Linked DNA regions of Homo sapiens: region 1 is linked to region 2. The links are contacts of gene promoters, found by promoter capture Hi-C in human tissues and cell types (Jung and others, 2019). All regions are on one chromosome and are shown on one strand. The core of a region is centred on a gene start or on the middle of the fragment in contact, and the rest is flanking DNA. Distances in the headings are between cores, read along the strand shown. Region 1 overlaps GSR (glutathione-disulfide reductase). Region 2 holds the start of PPP2CB (protein phosphatase 2 catalytic subunit beta).

The links. Contacts are between HindIII fragments. The study calls those that stand out against the background at their distance.
Region 1: a fragment that was not itself captured here is called in contact with the fragment with the promoter of PPP2CB in region 2 in 1 of the 25 tissues and cell types used here (mesendoderm cells).

Annotation. Positions count from the first base shown.
Region 1 is chr8:30,682,268-30,685,838 of GRCh38, reverse strand. It overlaps GSR (glutathione-disulfide reductase), which reads left to right. Exons shown (of 13, transcript NM_000637.5): 10 at 1,640-1,751. Among named protein-coding and RNA genes, the nearest start is that of GTF2E2, 26 kb to the right of the region's middle. The HindIII fragment of the contact is 3,449 bases long and covers 76-3,524 here.
Region 2 is chr8:30,811,457-30,814,979 of GRCh38, reverse strand. It overlaps PPP2CB (protein phosphatase 2 catalytic subunit beta), which reads left to right and starts at 2,162. Exons shown (of 7, transcript NM_001009552.2): 1 at 2,162-2,660. The coding sequence starts at 2,559. RefSeq lists silencers at 2,289-2,508, 2,539-2,598, 2,679-2,788, 2,849-2,908. The HindIII fragment of the contact is 3,135 bases long and covers 1-3,087 here.

The DNA.
Region 1 (3,571 bases), core at 551-3,050, 130 kb after region 2:
TGCCTGGCGAATTTTTAGTATTTTTAGTAGAGACAGGGTTTCACCATGTTGGCCAGGCTGGTCTCAAACTCCTGACCTCAGGTGATCCGCCCGCCTTGGCCTCCCGAAGTGCTAGGATTTACAGGCCTGAACCACTGCGCCTGGCCAGTTGTACTCTTAAGCTCTGTGGCTACTTACTTCCTACTTCTGCCATATCTCTACTTCTCATATATACTTAGGATTTGCAAAGCCACATGATAAGCATAACATGTCTTCTTAAAGCAAAAATTTGACTACATATAGGAAAATATTTTTGGTTAAGGGAAACATCAATATGTGTTTTTGTTTTGTTTTGCTTTTACTTTTCTTCTGGGAGTCTGAAAAAAACATCAGTATGTTTTAGAGTAGAGTGCAAAAGTTGCTTGGATTTTTAAAGACAAAATGGTAAGCTTCATAGAAATGTGCTTTTGGCCAGGCATGGTGGCTCACACCTGTAACCCCAGTGCTTTGGGAGACCTAGGCGTGAGGATCACTTGAGGCCAGAAGTTTGAGGTCAGCCTGGGAAACAGCAAGACCTATTCTATAAAAAAATGTTAAAAAGGCTAGGCGTGGTGGTTCACGCCTGTAATCCCAACACTCTGGGAGGCCGAGGCAGGTGGATCACGAGGTCAGGAGATCAAGACCATCCTGGCTAACATGGTGAAACCCCGTCTCTACTAAAAATACAAAAAAATTAGCTGGGTGTGGCGGCGGGCACCTGTAGTCCCAGCTACTCGGGAGGCTGAGGCAGGAGAATGGCGTGAACCTGGGAGGCAGAGCTTGCAGAGAGCCTAGATCGCGCCAGCCTGGGCGACAGAGCGAGACTCCATCTCAATAAATAAATAAATAAATAAATAAATAAATAAATAAATAAATAAATAAATAAATAAATGTATGTTAAAAAATTATCCAGGTGTGATGGCACATGCCTCTAGTTCTAGCTACTCGGGAGGCTAAGCAGGAGGATTGCTTAAGCCCAGGAGGTCAAGATTGCAGTGAGCCATGATCACACCACTGCACTCCAGCCTGGGTAACAGAGCGAGACCCTGTCTCTAAAAAAAAACTAAATAAACATAGATATGCTTTTGGTGACTGCTTGAGTCAGTGTTCCTCAGGAGCAGTGCTTCCATGGGACAAGTTGAAAAGCTGGACTCCAGAGGGATTCCAAGTGGCACACCTGATAGTTGAGTGATCCTCTTCATGTCTGCCTGGCCAGTTGAATTGTACATTGCAATGTCAAATCCTGTTAAAACATCTCAAAAGTGGATAAAATACTACCTTTTATGTTAAGCAAGATATGAAACTTGCCAACTTTTTTTTTTCTAATTTCTAACAGAGGCAGGGTCTCACTGTGTTGCCCAAGCTGATCTCAAACTCCTGGGCTTAAGGGATCCTCCCTCTTCGGCTTCTCAAAGTTCTGGGGTTACAGGTGTGGGCCCACTGTACCCAGCTTGAAACTTGCCAGCTGTAAATGCCTTTCGTGTTGCAGCTGAGTCTCATGGTTTCTTGGAGATTCTGGCTGCAGTTCCCATGTGAAATGAGGAAGGGAGATCCAGAGGTTTGATCTACCTTTTTTAGTAGGTGGGCCAAGTGGTTACATGATATCTCTTTGTAATTTTAGGGGATTCAAACCGATGACAAGGGTCATATCATCGTAGACGAATTCCAGAATACCAACGTCAAAGGCATCTATGCAGTTGGGGATGTATGTGGAAAAGCTCTTCTTACTCCAGGTAAGGTCTCTTCCCTTCTTGGTGAGGGAGGGTCTGCGTGTTACATGATCCATCTGGCTCTTCACTGTCAAATCTGCAGTCTGCTTAAGCAAAGTTAAAAGGATGAGTGTCTTTATATTGTCAAAATGGTACAATGTGTTGAAATAGATATTGGTTGGATACCTGACATTATCTGAATAAAAGACTTAAAATGCTTAGCACAGACTGAAGTTTTCATGTAGACAATATGATCACCCGTTGCGGAACTCTCTTAGGAGCAGACTTGTGCTTGGTGGCAGTGGAAGGAAGTGGCATTTGGAAGAAGTAATTTAGATTGGCATTTTTTTTTTTTTTGGAGACACTCTGTTACCCAGGCTGGAGTGCAGTGGCATGATCACGGGCTCACTGCAGTTTCAACCTTCCTGGGCTCAGGTGATCCTCCCACCTCAGACTCCCAAGTAGCTAGGATCACAGGTGCATTTTTTGTAGAGACAGGGTTTTACCATGTTGTCTTGAACCCCTGTGCTTAAGCAGACTGCCTGCCTCAGCCTCCCAGAATGTTAGGATTACAGGCATGAGCCACCACACATGGCCTAGATTGTCATTCTTGTATGACTGGTCTTGATACAACCAAGACTGATTTCCTTCTCTCCGGCATCCCACACCTCAGCCCGCTTCCTAAGCACCATTGCAAGCTCTGTCCCATCTCTATCCATTAATGATCACTTGATCTACTTTCAGTCTGTACCTAGAACCTCATCAGCGATTCCAGCGTGTCCCAGGGCCTTATATCAGGATGAAAACCTACACCAGTCACACACCCAAACCCTTTTAGCTCCTTTAGAAAGTTCTTGCTCTTGGCTAGGTGTGGTGGCTCCCATCACTTTCAGAGGCTGAAGTTGGGGGATCGCTTGAGTCTAGTAGTTTGAGACCAGGCTGGGCAACATAGTGAGATGTTGTCTGTATTAAAAAAATAAAGATTCAGCTGGGCACGGTGGCTCACGCCTGTAATCTCAGCACTTTGTGAGGCCGAGGTGGGCAGATCACGAGGTCCAGAGATCGAGACCTTCCTGACCAACATGGTGAAACCCCATCTCTGCTAAAAATACAAAAATTAGCTGGGCGTGGTGGCACACGCCTGTAGTCCCAGCTACTTGGGAGGCTGAGGCAGGAGAATTGCTTCAACCCGGGAGGCAGAGGTTGCAGCGAGCTGAGATGGCGCCACTGCTCTCCAGCCTGGCAACAAGAGCGAGACTCTGTCTAAAAAAAAAAAATAATAATATAATAATAATGATAATAATAATAAAGATTCTAGGCGCAGTGGCTCATGCCTGTAATTCCAGCACTTTAGGGTTATAAAATAGAACTAAAGATGCTGAAAACTAATATAGCTTGTTCCATAAATATTGTATTAAAAAGCTAATATCTTCATTAAGTAGATTAACTGCCAGGTAAGTGAGAACTTGTGAATGTGTCTTTTGGGAGTGGGGCCAGACAGGTTGAGCATCCCTTATCTGAAATGCTTGGGACCAGAAGTGTTTTCAGTTTCAGATTTTGGAATATTTGCATATATATAATGAGATATTTTGCAGATGCGACCCAAGTCGAAACACGGAATTCATTTGTTTTACATACACCTTATACACATAGTTGGTAGGTAACTTTATACGATATTTTAAATGTGTGCATGAGGCATACTTTTGTCTGCGTTTTTGACTGCAACCCTTCACATGAGGTCAGGTGTGGAATTTTCTGCTTGTGGCATCATGGTGCTCCAACATTTTGGATTTTGGATTTTGAATTTCTGGATTAGGGATGCTCAACCTGTAATAGAATGTATA
Region 2 (3,523 bases), core at 913-3,412:
AATATCTATTGCAATGATATCTCACCAGTATTGTTTCATCACCTTTTGTGTTTTGTTCAACTGGTTTGCTGCTATTTACAAGCTGTTGAGAGCAGGAGCTCTTCCAGCCTTATTTCCAACAATATAATCTATTTCTGTTGCTAGGAGAATTTATAGCTTTCCAAACAGACAATGAATGGTCTTTCACTCATTTGTCTACTGGCACACGCACAAAAAAATTCCTTAGACCTTCTTTCCTCTTCTCCAGGCAACTTCAAGCTTTTGCCTTGAGAGAAGGTTGAAAATTCAGTTCAATTACCGCTTTTCTAAAGCTTTCTGTAATTGTTCCCTAGGAGGGGTAAGGCAACTAACATATCGCTCCCATACCGTACTATTGGGCAGGCACTTTTAAAACTTAATCTTCACAAAGGTAGGCCTTTTATTGATTTTAACAGATGAAGAATTTGAGGCTTACGGAGGTTTGATGATTGCCCAAGGACATAGCTAGGGGGTTAGCAAACACAAGAACCCTTGCTTTCTGATACAGGATGTTACCTTCCACTTGGGTTCAGCCGCAGTAGTATGTACCTTTAATAGACACAGTATGATCATTTAGCACATGCTATTCAAGGTATCTGGCAGCTAGCAGCTGCTCATGTTACCTAACTGAATTTAGGTCCTCCCTCAAGTACGGCAAAGCCAAACACTGACATTGGGGTTTGTAGTGAAAGTGAGGCATTTATTGCATTGCACCAAGCAAGAAGAATCAGGCAGCTCATGCTTAAGACCCCAACTCCCTGATGGTTTACAGGTAAGGGGTTTTTTGTGTGCTTTTTTTTTTTTTTTTGAAACAGAGTTTCACTCTTGTCACCCATGCTGGAGTGCAATGGCGAGATTTCGGCTCACTGCAACCTCCACCTCCCGATTTCAAGTGATTCATCTGCCTCAGCCTCCCAAGTAGCCGGGATTACAGGCGCCCACCACCATGCCCAGCTAGTTTTTGTATTTTTAGTAGAGAAGGGGTTTCACCATGTTGGCAGGCTGGTCTCCAACTCCTGGCCTCGGCCTCCCAAAGTGCTGGGATTACAGGCATGAGCCACTGCGCCCAGCCCAGGTAAGGATTTTTAAAGGCAGGGAGGCAGAGGTTACAGGCAAAGTCATAAATCAATACATGGAGGCTATACGTGGGTTTGATCTAAAAAGCCAGGATATCTGAAGCAGGGACCCACAGGTCATAGATGGATTCAAAGATTTTCTGATTTGCAATTGGTTAAGGAGGCAAAGCTTTGTGAATTCTTCCAGGCTCCTCAGGAAGAAATTTAGAACAAAGATAGGTAGTTTGAGATCTCCATGCCAGTGGACACCATTTTCCATTTGGTGAGGTCCAGGTTTCTGAAAAACAACTCAGGGACATATGTCGTCTTTAGTTTCTATAGGGAAGCAAACATTTTGTGAATCTAACGTCCTTGGCTACTGTCTTAAGCTATTATTACCTTCTTGCTTATCAGGTTGCTCATTGACTTATTGAGGAAGTTAGGTGCCTGGAATGTCCCTTCAGGGAACTCAAGATTTTCCTTTATTTCCATGCTTGGGGAGGGGGGTGCCTAGATGGCCCCTAAGAGGGGTCCCTGTTCTGTCTCTCAATAAATATTTGTTGAATGAACAAATCATTACAACTCAGTACACATTGCAGAAAATATAGCCAAGAGCTCTGGAGCTGGAAGGGCCACAGATTATCCTACAGAACAATCATTTCACTTTTCTAATGTCGAAAGGGAGGATTCGAGATGTTAGGGGCTACAGGTGAGGCTGGAAATAATTAATTTACTCCATCAATATTGAATGCCTGCTATTGAGTGCTAGACTCTGGGGAGACAATGTTAAGGGAAGCCCAAGTTTTCCAACTCCCTGTCCAGAGCGCTGCAAAGTACTGCAGGAAGCTAAAGTGAGGACAAAGTTCCCAGAGATCAGGATATTTAAAGGGAGAACCAGCAGAGCTTGGTCTGGGGCAGGGTGGGGAAAAGAGGGACCCTGGCCTCCTCGGACCGTTTCTCCGCCAAGCCACGCGAGGGCGCTGTTCTGCTCCTAGGGCGCCGTGTCCCGGCGGCGCCGCCTGCTCGCCTTTTCCCGGCGGAAATGCCCGAGCGATGACGGAAACCCGGAGGGAGGGGAGAGAAAGAGCGAGAGAAGGGGAAAGACAAGTCGGGAGAGGCCGGTAGGCGTGAGGCGGGCCTGAAGCGGCAGCGGGCGGCCTTCGTCCGGCGAGAGCTAGGCCGAGGACCCGCGCCGCGCTCCCCGGCACCTCACCGCGTCCTTCACCGACTCCCGCGGCGCGCGGCCGGGCGGGGAAGGGCGGGCGGGGGTCTCCTCCAGGCTGCGCGCTCGGAGCCGCCTGCTGGGCTTGGGCGGGGCGCGGGGCCCGCGGCCGCCCTACCCGGCTCAGTCCTCCCCCTGTGGGACCTGGCGACGGCGGCGGAGGGAGAGGGGAGCGGCGCCCGGGCCGGGGCCGGGGGCGGGTGGGGAGGGGGGAGGGCGGCGGCCGGGCTGGGGCTCGGGATCCGCATCGGGATCGGGCCGCCATGGACGACAAGGCGTTCACCAAGGAGCTGGACCAGTGGGTCGAGCAGCTGAACGAGTGTAAGCAGCTGAACGAGAACCAAGTGCGGACGCTGTGCGAGAAGGTGAGGGCGCCGCGGGGGCGAGTGCGGGAGCGCGGGGCTGGGACGGGCCGCCGCTTTCCTGCCCGCCCCGGTCCCGTCCGCCCCTGGCCCGGCGCGGCCCACCGGGGGCCTGCGGGGCTGTGGGTCCGGCTCCGGCGTCCACCTAGGCGGCCGGCCCATCGGTTCAGGGCCCGGGGCGTTGGGCTGCCCTCGCCTGCCCCTTCCACCTCCGCCTCACGCCCCCGGCCGGCTGCCCAGATCCCGGGCGTGGGGGGCTCGGGTGCGGACGGGCGGGGAAACGTAGCCCCCTGAGCCAAGCAGGAGGTTGGTCGGGGTCGCCTGCGCTCCACTGGGGAGTTCCTGCCACTCTAGCATTTCCCGAGTGGACTAGCGAGAGCGACGTCCGAAAAGGACCATTTTCAGACCAGTTTCTGAAAATGCAACTAAAATTAACCAGAATGTCGTGCGTATTAATGAACTTGTTAATAAATGCAGAATTTTTGTCAGGTGAACGGGGCACCTCAGAAATCACTAACTCAAGCCGGGCGTGGTGGCTCACGCCTGTGGCCACAGCTACTCGGGAGGCTGAAGCGGGAGGATTGCTTGAGCCCAGGAGTTAGAGACCAGCCTGGGCAACATAGTGAGGCCCCGTCTCCACACACAAAAAATTTTTTTTAATTAGCAGGGTGTGACGGCGGGTGCCTGTAATCCCAGCTATTCGGGAGGCTGAGGCGGGAGGATCGCTTGAGCCCAGGAGGTGGAGGCTGGTTGCAGTGAGTCGAGATCGCGCCACTGCACTCCAGCCTGGGCGACAGCAAAAAAAAAAAAAAAAAAATCGCTGATTCTTGAATGTGCCAAGCGTTTGTTTGCGGAGAGGTAGGCGT